Linked DNA regions of Homo sapiens: regions 1 and 3 are each linked to region 2. Evidence: promoter capture Hi-C in 16 types of primary human blood cells and fetal thymus (Javierre and others, 2016). All regions are on one chromosome and are shown on one strand. Each heading gives the region's core, a stretch centred on a gene start or on the middle of the fragment in contact. The rest is flanking DNA. Distances are from core to core; before and after follow the strand shown.

Evidence for each region. The method cuts DNA at HindIII sites, captures the fragments that hold promoters and counts their contacts. A CHiCAGO score of 5 or more calls a contact.
Region 1: a contact is called between a fragment that was not itself captured here and the fragment with the promoter of PRDM13 in region 2, in 1 of 17 cell types (total B cells). The highest score is 5.5, in total B cells.
Region 3: a fragment that was not itself captured here is called in contact with the fragment with the promoter of PRDM13 in region 2 in 1 of 17 cell types (total B cells); the score reaches 8.4 in total B cells.

The regions. Positions count from the first base shown.
Region 1 is chr6:104,947,587-104,950,968 of GRCh38, reverse strand. It overlaps a transcript of LIN28B not described here. Among named protein-coding and RNA genes, the nearest start is that of LIN28B, 7.8 kb to the left of the region's middle. The HindIII fragment of the contact is 6,126 bases long and covers 1-3,382 here.
Region 2 is chr6:99,605,583-99,608,985 of GRCh38, reverse strand. It overlaps PRDM13 (PR/SET domain 13), which reads right to left and starts at 2,153. Exons shown (of 4, transcript NM_021620.4): 1 at 1,808-2,153; 2 at 114-245. The coding sequence starts at 1,951. The HindIII fragment of the contact is 6,161 bases long and covers 762-3,403 here.
Region 3 is chr6:108,160,499-108,164,244 of GRCh38, reverse strand. No RefSeq gene overlaps it. Among named protein-coding and RNA genes, the nearest start is that of NR2E1, 3.6 kb to the left of the region's middle. RefSeq lists an enhancer at 82-983. The HindIII fragment of the contact is 939 bases long and covers 1,811-2,749 here.

The sequences.
Region 1 (3,382 bases), core at 465-2,964, 5.3 Mb before region 2:
ATTGTGCTATTTCTGTTATGATAAATTATTTTAAAACAGCACCATGTCTCCATTTTTAATTTAGTTCAGCAGATATTCGTTAGTGCATATTTTACTTTGGGAGTTACAAAAATGAACAAACCATGAATACTTTTCATTCATCTCCATAAGCATTTAAATATCTGTTATCTATGCTGCTTGAGTTACAGAAAAAGGAATCACAAAATACAATACTGCTAAAAGTGGGGGTGGGGGGAAAGGGGTTAATTAGAAGAGGTTGTCCACGTAATTCTTATGGGAACACCAGTTTTTTAGATGGAGTGATCAGGACGAAGTATAGGAGGACTTGGTACCTGTCTTGCCAAAGTAGAAAGGATGGAGAATTCCTGAGGGCTGTCAGGTTCTCATATGCCTCTAGCGATCTTGATCTTTTAAAACATTAATTAAACAAAATATTTAAAAAAAAAAAAAAAGACTAACCTGGGGCTGATGAAACCTGGTTGAATGACCTCATCCTCTTCTGAAGAACCTAAAATCAGAGAGCTCAAGTCAGTACTACATTAATTGCCTATTTAATTGCCTCTTCTTCATCCTAATGGCCATTAGAAAGCAATAAAATGCCCAGGTTTTGACTCTGTGAAGAGACCTGTAAACTTTTTTTTACAGTTTAAGACTCACCTAGCAAAATTAGATAACCAATTGGCATATACTTGCCTTTTATATCTAGTAGAGGACACTAGTTTAAAGAACATTTACAACATTTAAGACCATTAAGATGCAGTCAAAAGATCCCAATATCACGAACAATGCAGTTTAAATTTTAATATTTAATTTTACACTGTAATTTTAAAATACTAGTATTTTTTCCAAGCACAGTTAAAATCTACTTAACCTAGAATATCATGTTTCTTGAAGAACTAACTTCTTTGACTATTCTCTTCAGATATATTTCAGAAGATAAATCATGAGAATCTAACGATGGTACTATAAAATAGATATTGGGGCTGTTGCAGTCAAGTGAATGAAAAATTACATTAATGGTAATACATTTAATCATTAAGTATATTTTTAAATATCTAATATGCATTTTAACTTATATTTTTAAATGGGTTAATGTTTTTTAAAAAGCAAACAGTTCTCATTTTTTAAATATGAGTAAATATTGATGTTTCTAATACATCCATTGGCAGATGCCACAACACAATAAAACTTGCAATAAAGAGGCCACACAGTAATCAAGTATAGTGATTGGAAGAGGAACTCCTGGTGACTACTAAATTATTGTTTTTATCCTTGGGTCAGTTATTAAGGTTTGCAAAACAGATTGGTGTGAACATGCATGCACTCACCTGCTACACCCAGAGTTGTCTTTCCTTAACTAAGTTTTACACACTAGACCTACTATATCAACTCACAAAAAATAAGTAAAACCATTCTGTGCAAATTATTTAAGTTGCAATCTAATTTTCTTCTCAAAAGGAAATGGAGACTTTTCCAAGTGCAGGGTTCTACTGAATGTTGACCCAAGGTTCTTTTTACAAAGGATGACAATCCCACCGAGTTAGATTTGAAAAGAATAGAGGAAGAATGTGAACAAAAGGCACGTGAACCTCTGTACATTAAATCCTTCACTTAGCCTGTGTTTACAACCAAAAGACACAAGATAATGACAGATCCTAACTTTAACAAAATTCATTACAGACACTTAATGAAACAGAGCTTTCCTTTACATTGATCCTGTATCAAGTTTTATTTTGCACATCTGGCTTATGTGTGAGTATATTTAATTATTGTACATAAATATTTCAGCACAACTGTAGCTTCTGCCTTTCTATTCTAATAGTCCACAGCCTATTCTTAATCCTATCTGCTTATATTTAGAGAAGAATTCAAGCCAACATATTTTAAAGATGTGTAAATACAATAGATAGGGTTTGTTAAAAAAAAAAAAACTTTGCAAATAATTTGGACAAACTATCACAAATAGGTTTAATAAAGCCAAAATCAAATAATGTAAGAAAGTTAGCTAAATAATGCTATTTAATTCAAGAGCTCTAACTATTAGCTTTTGGAGTTTTTTTTAAAAAGCCAATTTGACTGACAATAACATTCAGATTTTTCACTATTCAAACTTACATATGATGTCCTTGGTTATACTAGTTTTAACAGTAATGTCCGCTTCAAAGGAAAAGTAACATGAAATTATTTCACAATTAATGTTTTTCACTAATATTAATGGTTTAAAATTGTTCAAAAACAAGAGTAGAAAAAATAGCATTGTTTAAATGTAGATATTATCATGTATCCATCCAATATTGACTGAACAACTATAATAGGAATGAGACAGGTATAAGCTGTAAAATATTTATAATTTTAAATGTTCATATTCTTATTCTAGGTGACTGTTTTTTGAAATGAAATATCAGGAGTTAAAATAATTCTTCAAATGCATGAATACTCCAAAAACAGCCACTGACATTTTATACATGAGTATTTATATGTAATAATTTTTTTTCTTTTTTTAGACGGAGTTTTGCTCTTGTTGCCCAGGCCGGAGTGCAATGGTGCAATCTAGGCTCACTGCAACCTCTGCCTCCTGGGTTTAAGCGATTCTCCTGCCTCGGCCTCCCGAGTAGCTGGGATTACAGGCATGTGCGACCATGCCTGGCTAATTTTTCTATTTTTAGTAGAGATGGGGTTTCACTATGTTGGCCAGGCTGGCCTCGAACTCCTGACCTTGTGATCCACCCGCCTCGGCCTCCCAAAGTGCTGGGATTACAGGCATGAGCCACCGTGCCAGGCCTTGTATTTAATACATTTTGTTAAAATATTTTATTTAACAGAGTTCATTACGTTTTCTTAGAAAACAAAAACCTAAACCTATGAAATCCCAAAATACACTTCTTTGCCCCTACACGAGAATAATCTCCATTCATCATTTAGATCTCTACTTAGAGCTCTTTTTCATACTGTTCCATACTGAATACAATGTCTCTACCATGTAATAGTGTACTGTGGTTTATTATAACAGTCCATGAAAATGTTCTCTCTCCCAACTGAACTCTATGCTCTGTGATTAGAGAGACTGTGTATATTTAGCTCATTATTATAATTCTGGCATTATTTTGTATTCATTATATTTTTTGAACCAATGACAACGAATTCCTGTACCGAGGTTGATTATTCCTAGGTTGGCTTTTATAAAAAAAAAAAAAAAAAGTACGCAAAATGTTTTGTTAAACCATCTTTTCATAAAAAATAATTGGATAGGCAATTAATCTCTTATAAATATAAAATACATATATTACAAATATAAAATACATATATACAAAATAATTCCAATTATTTTAATTTAAATATATGATTTACTGCTATAGGAGTGCCTAACTTATAAAGAGTATCC
Region 2 (3,403 bases), core at 904-3,403:
GAGACGTCTAGCTAAAGTACTTTGCTCTTAATATTTTTGGCCACCGCAGGGACGGTTAGGTAGACTGAATTGGCGGTGGGGAGTGGGGGGGTGTGGAGAGAAGCCCGCAGTACCTGTCCTCCGGGTAAGTCTGCAATAGCTTCCAGAGTCTGTTCCTGGGAGTTTCTGGCTGCCCGGATTAACCCTATCCACTCCAGAGGGGAGCCCCCCGACTCGTCCACCAGCTCCCCTCTCACCATGCGCACCTGCAACACAAGCAGTGGTCGTTCTCCCCCGCACCTTGGCCAGGCCCACAACCCAAACAGAAAGTTTATCCTCCACCCCAACCCAACACAGGAAAGTGGTTGTTTTTGGTTTGGCCAGACCACTATGGGCTACTGGGAGGAGGAGAATTCCTTAGGACCTTGCTTCGGGGAGGGAGAAAGAGGAAAGTCTACCTATGCTAACAGTACTCCCACTTCCCTGCGCCCCACCTTGACGACACGGGGAGGGGAGAGGGGTGTTGAGAGCATCCTCCCTGAGTGCTTAGGCACATCTTGTACCAAGTTGTCCCCTACCCCAGCTCTCCCATTTGCAGTTCTGAGAGCAGCCGTAACACCACGGTAGAGACATTTCTAGGTCAGTCCCAGGGCCCAGAGCGTACCCCCGACAAACAAACAAAAAAATTATCTCATGCCTCCTGTATTCTGTGTGCATCGCACCTAGTTGCCTGTGAGCCCTGCAGCTAAAGTCTCGGAACAAAGCCCAAGCGGGGAAAAGCTTGCCCGCAGCTGGCAGGCCATTTAAAAGCAATTAAAACGCGTTTAAAGAGGAATGCGCGGTGGGCACCAAACCCCGCTTTAGACTGTAGTGGGGGGCGTGATTGCAGGAGGAGCGAGGTGCAAGTCCCGCTGGCTGGACACCGGAGCTTTTTACTAGAAAGCTCCAAGCAAGGCAAGCTAAAGCCAAGGAAGCCAAAGTCCTTTCTTCTACCCCAGACTTCTGCCTTCATTTCCCGGTCGCTGTTTGCCGACCTTTGGCTCCTGGGACGCCCCCAAAGCGGGCGAGTGCTATAAGTCTCTCTGGTCAGGGGTCGCGACGGTGTGTGGAGTGTGGGAGTCAAAGCTAGTGGTTTGGCCCTGGCGCCTCCCGGTTGGGCCTCTGGACTCTCAGAGCCCCGCTGCAGACGCTCTGACCCTGTGCCCCGCGCGAATGGGCGCGCCTCGCCCTTGGAGCCCGCGTCAGAGCCAGTACCTTGCTCATCCTCTCTCCATATGCCGCATACCCACAAGCCGACATCGGCAAGGGAAAAAAAAATATCTGAGGAGGTTCTAGGAACTGAGAGCCTCCCAAAGATTTTTTTTTTCAGGAAAAAAAATTACTTTAAGGCGAAATTAGGCCTCAAATTAACATATTGAAGGGCAGAAGGGAAGAAAGGGTCTCGATGCCCTGAGCCCCCAGAAAGAGGGTGCTTTTGCAGAGAGAGCTGCGGACAGCGTGCGGGGGTGGGCTTCTGGCTTCTGACTGAGGAGACCCGAGAGCGCAGGGGAAAACACAAGCTGCGAATGGTCCCGGCACCTACAGCGCTCAGTGCACCCCACCCAGGGCTGTCGCCTCTCGGCCACATCCTCTCCTCTCAGCCCGACCCCGTCCAGCTCTCACAGTTAAAGAGGCTACTTGCTCAGAATAATAGGAGTCCCCTTCCACCCGGCAGAATTAGCAGGTAACGACTCAATCACTCCCTTCCTCCACTTTCTCTCGTACCCCTTTCCCGGGTCAGGGCACTGAGAGGCGAATGGCAGTGGGCAGAGGTCTGAATGGTCAATACCTTTTTCTTAGGCCCGGGCTCCCTGCGGTCTGACAGGTACTTGCCCAGCTTGAAGGTACCAGGCACCGGTCCGAGGCGCAAGCCGGCCGGGATGCAGCAGTCGGCACTCACGCTGGTGGCTGGCGCTCTGGCGGCTCCGTGCATTGTTGCCGCCGCCACCAGGCAGGCGCTCGGGTGCTCCAGGTCCTTGGAAGGGCGCGAGTGACAGAGCTGGAGCTGCGCGCTAGCCAGAGAGCCGCGCCCCGACGTGCGTCCTCCGCCCGCGGAGTGACGCGGGCGGGCATGCACTGCGCCTTTTCAATCGGGGCGGGAGCCTTTTGGCACCGCTAGCGCAAGGGCGCGGAGTTTGGTGAGAGAGTTGCGCTGCGAAGCAGCTGCAGAGTCCCACCCGAGAGGGTCACATGGAGTGGTTCCCTCAGCCCCCTGCATAATCGAGGCCGCTGAATGGCTAGCACACAATGGTCCAGGCGACCTTCCCATTCCTAAAAATCCAATTTGTCAAGGGCGAAGAAAAGGCACTGGTGAATCAAAGGTCCGGCGGGACCATTAATCCTCAGCATGGGGTATTGTCCTCCAGACAGTTACGATATTTTAAGTGACAAATCCACTGTATAATTTCTCCATAAATTTTACTTCCTTTTATTGTTCCCCGACAAACCAGTTTTGGGAAATAAGTGACTACTTTAAGTCTACTTGGCTGATTCCTTTGAGCCTTGATCTACTTCAAAGATTTTTAATTCTCTCCCCTTGGCTTTATTGTAAAGGAGATTAAACAAAGAGATGGAGACTGTTTGGAGGACTTGTTAACTACTATTGATTTCTGGCGTGTGCCATACAGAAATTAGGCAGGTACTTGATGGGAAAACACCAGAAAATACCTACACTTTTTAAATAACAACCATATTACCATTTCAGGGGATTGGGTTCAGGCCAGTCGTCTATTCAGAACCGCTTTAATTCTCACTTCTGTCCCATTTCGTCCGAAAATATGATGAAGCCTCCAGACCAAGTTGAGAAGGGGAGGTCAACTGCTCATCACTTTTCTCGGGCACACCCCGGGCCTGCACTTTCTCTGGAGAATGGGAAACAGCCCCAGAACCAACAGTTTCGAATGGGGATCCTGCGCCCCGGTCCGCAGCCCAGGGTTGAAGAGGAAGAAGTTCTACCAGTGGGTTATTGATCACGTCCCCTAGAAGATGTCCTTGGACTAACTTCCCTAAAACCAGCAACCTGGACTTTTCTATTAAAAAAAAAACAGTAAACAAAAACGAAAATCACCGCAATCTGTTAAAGGTTGTAGAGAAGAGGGGCGAGGTGGGCGTTTGGGACAACTCTTTCTTACACCTACTTTGTGAACTAACAAGACGTTGTACTTCAGAGTTAAACCGGAGAGCTACCCGTTTTCTTTTAGGGAAGCCTCCAATTGGCGTGAGAACATTTATTTTCATAAATAGTAGCCAAGTAATCAAGTTCATCAGATATTTGTGATTTCTGCCGGCACCTGCCGCGTGCTGCTAGTTCTGAGCACAGCTCCCCAAATCCTATGCAGCCAGCACCGGAGCCCGATGCAGTTCTTCCAAGAGAGGCCTGAGTGGT
Region 3 (3,746 bases), core at 1,031-3,530, 8.6 Mb before region 2:
GGGGTGATGACTAGACCCAGGCCTGTCTGCAGGGGAAGCATTTAGGGGTCTGTTTCGAGAAGGAGAACTACTAATTGCTTTGCCTGTGCGGGGGCTGGACGATGGCTTTCCTGGGCTCCAAACCACCTCTTCCCCTACTCTCGAACGCTCCTGCCAGGCTGGCTCATTTGTAGGCACCAAAACTTCTGGAAAATACTCCCAAGGCTCATCAAATTGTCTCAAAATCAAAATGGGTATCTTCCCTCTTTTTCCTGTCACCAGTCCCCGATCAAGCATGGTGTCAAGAAGATGCCTACGGAATACACACACACCCCATTCAGCCCTGGCGAAAGGCACAACACTGCGCGCACACACCCGCAGCATATGCATCCTGTGTTCTGTGCGCCCGGCTGTAATTATCGGCGCGCTTTGCATAAATCACAATACAGTTCTGAAATCATCGTGATGACTTTCTGGCATGACTGGTTCAGTGGTAACGGCGGCAACAAGCTCCAGGGTAGGCGGGAGGGGCTGAGGCCCCGTCGCCCACCAGGTCCCAAATAAGCCTGGAGCCTTAGTGCGGGCTGCCTTCTACTCAGGCAAAGCTGCTGCAGGCCACGGGGGACCTCGGATTTAAGGCGTAGAAACTTGGGGCTACCATGGGTACAGCTCAGAGAAGAAAGCCTTTGCAGGACAAAGACTATGGCTCTTCATCTTTCTATCCACAGGCCCCAGCATGCTGCCTGATTCATAGTAGGTGCTGCATAAATGTTGGGCAAATGAAGGGAAGTCACCTGCAGATGCCCTGAGGGGCCACTGGAGGCACAGCCAGGCTAAACGCTGGAAACCACGAGATAGGGATTCAGGGCTGTGCCAACAAGCTGTGTGACCTTAGGCGAGTGGCTAGACCTCTCTGGGTTCCAGATTGTTATTTGTAAAAGGATTCTCACCCTGTTCGGTCTTAACTTTCAAAGATTTTTTCCTGTGAGTCCATTAAAGGAAATGATTGATAAGGGGCAAATGCCATCTGGCTCAGAATTATCTTTTAACAGAGACAAGACCTTAAGTTACAAGGATAAGTTTATTGCTTTGGAAGGTGGTGGGGATAGCCACACCCTCAGAGGTTCTGAAACCCTTCTAAACAGGTTCAGACATAGCCCCTAATTTCCTCTGTAGGCGCTTGTGAGTATGGAGCTCTCAACCAAAACCAAAGCCTAAAACGCAGGGAAGGTTCTTTTATCGAAGGATGTTTACATTTTGGTCCAAGAGATAGGAAATAAGATCATGAGAGGACCATGGATCAAGGGGTATTTCTGCCCATCCATCAATCTACCCACTCATCAAATACTGAGCACCCACTATATGCCAGACCCTGGGGATATAGCAGATTAATGACATGACTCCTTTCTCCATGTAGCAGGGAGCAGACACATAAAAGATGATAAATGTTTTAGATTGGGATGAAACACAGGACACTGGAGATATATACAAGGAGCCCTAAACCAGTGTGCGGTGACATAGGCTGTCCAGAATTGCCCTGGAAAGCTGGCCTTGTGTTAGGAGAATCTACTGATTCTACAGTCCTCTGAGGACTGTATTGTATTATAGCTCATTCCTCTGCTAGTGCCCTGTTAAAGAGAATCCTATTAACTAGGTTGTATGAGAGAGGCAGGGGTACAGAGCACCCCTCAAAGTTTCAGACTATCTGAGGTTGACTGCTAGCCCTGCCATTCACTAGCTTCTCTAAAAACGGTGACATTTTTTCCATTAACACCCCCTCCACACACACACATTCTTCTAAATTAAAATACCGAAGGTGAAAGGACAAGCTTTCCCATCAGCTAGCAGAGCTGATGGAATTGGTGTTAAAGAGACCCCTTCCCCAATCCCCTGTGATCGACCCCTCACAGAGGCCATTCAACCTCTAGAGAGTCACTCCTTTAAAATACCATTCCCCTTACCGATATGCAGAGTTAAGAGATGCTCAGACCAAGGAAATCGCTGGGAAAACCTACCAGCTGAGCTTGGCTGAGTTTTGATGTTTAGTATCCAAAAACATTCTGACACAAGTTTTTGTTTGTTTGTTTGTTTGTTTGTTTATATGAAGGAGGAAGTTGATTTGCATTTGCTTCCACATCATAATTCAACCTATGGCTGTTGTTTGCCCAGTGGATGGTGAGAGAGGAGGTGGGTCATGGAGCAGTGTCTGGCACATAGTAGGTGCTTGCTAAGTGCCAAATGAAAGAAACAGTGTTTGCAGGCTTGCTCTTGATTCTGCTGTGGATCTCTCTACAAGTTGTTTGATTCTTATCCAAATTTACCCCCCAAATAAACAAGAACAATCCAGAAAAGAGACGCTTGTTCTCTAGAATCCAGTGGGTCCTGAGTTGCAGGGTTTTTCTTGACACTTTTGAGCACTGTATTGCCAAAAGTAGTCTGTTACTCCCCACAAGTAGGAAGATGAACGCTGCTAACAACAAGGAGACAATGCTCTGTGTGACCACCCCCCTCACCCCACAACCTTAACAAATAACAAGTCATGTCTTTGCATTTATTCACACCCTTGGTTGGACAAAAATTCAGTTCTAAAGTCAGGCTGAGACTCCGAGGCTTCTAGAGTCCCGCTGCATCTTGACATTCTCTGGCTCCAAGAATAATCAAGTAGAAACATCTTTCTAGTCCCTTGCACCCTGGCACATAGTGGTGCTTTGTAAATGTGGAATGTATGAGTGAACCTGCCTGATGATACTCAATGAAAGCTACTGAAGCTTGAGGTGAAGGGCTCATTTTTGCTCAGCCCCAGCAATGGGGTAGGAAGGGAACAGGGACAGGTCCTCTGAATCTCCAAACCTTGGGAAGCAGTGCAGGTCATTTTTGGCTTTCTGAAAACAAAAGAATGACTAGAGAAACAAGAAAGCAGAACACAGACTACATCCAGGGAGATACTGGCTGCCAAGCTTTCTTCAGCCTCCTAATTTCCTGTGAATTACACAGTCTAACTTGGCTTCCATTTAGCGTGGAATCACAGAGCACATAAGTTACAAGGCACTCCTCTAATGTAGTCATTTTATAGATGAGGAAAGTGAGAACCTTAGAGACAACTTGTCCTTGCTTACTCACTGAGAGACAGAGATCATCCCCAGAACCCATATCTCCTGATGCTGAGTCCAGTGCTCTTTGAAATACTCATTCCACTGCATTCTACTGCATCCAGCTACCTCTCATTTCCCAGAAGGGCTTCTAGAAGCTCCAATTAAAGCAATTTCACTTACTTACTAGTGAAGTAATTAGAATTAAGAACAGTGTTTTGTGCATCTTGAAACTATAGTTCAGTATTTGTGCAACGTCAGCCTCCTTTACTTCACAGGGTTTTTTTCTAAATTCCCTTTCTGCCAGTACTTAAAATTTGCTGTGTTCCAAGGTATAGGAAACCTGTGAGGTGTCCTCTCTGTTTTATAGAAGGGATGATATGACCTACAGGAGCAATACTTAGAGACACAAATCATAGATGCTGAGAAAAAGGCAATGATTAGATTGACCAATTAATCGCTGAATTTGATCTGCCTGGATTGCCAATCTAGGCCTTTCAGATTTTAAAAACGTCCCTGTCTTCCCTTCACAGCAGCTTTAGGACCTACTTTATCCAGATTACTGTTTCAACACTTGTAGAAACAATTGTTATGTAAAACCAGGTACTCCAGTTTGAATGTGGCCAATATATTTCAGAATAAGCTACAATTCTTTATTATGTGGATGAGTATATCAGG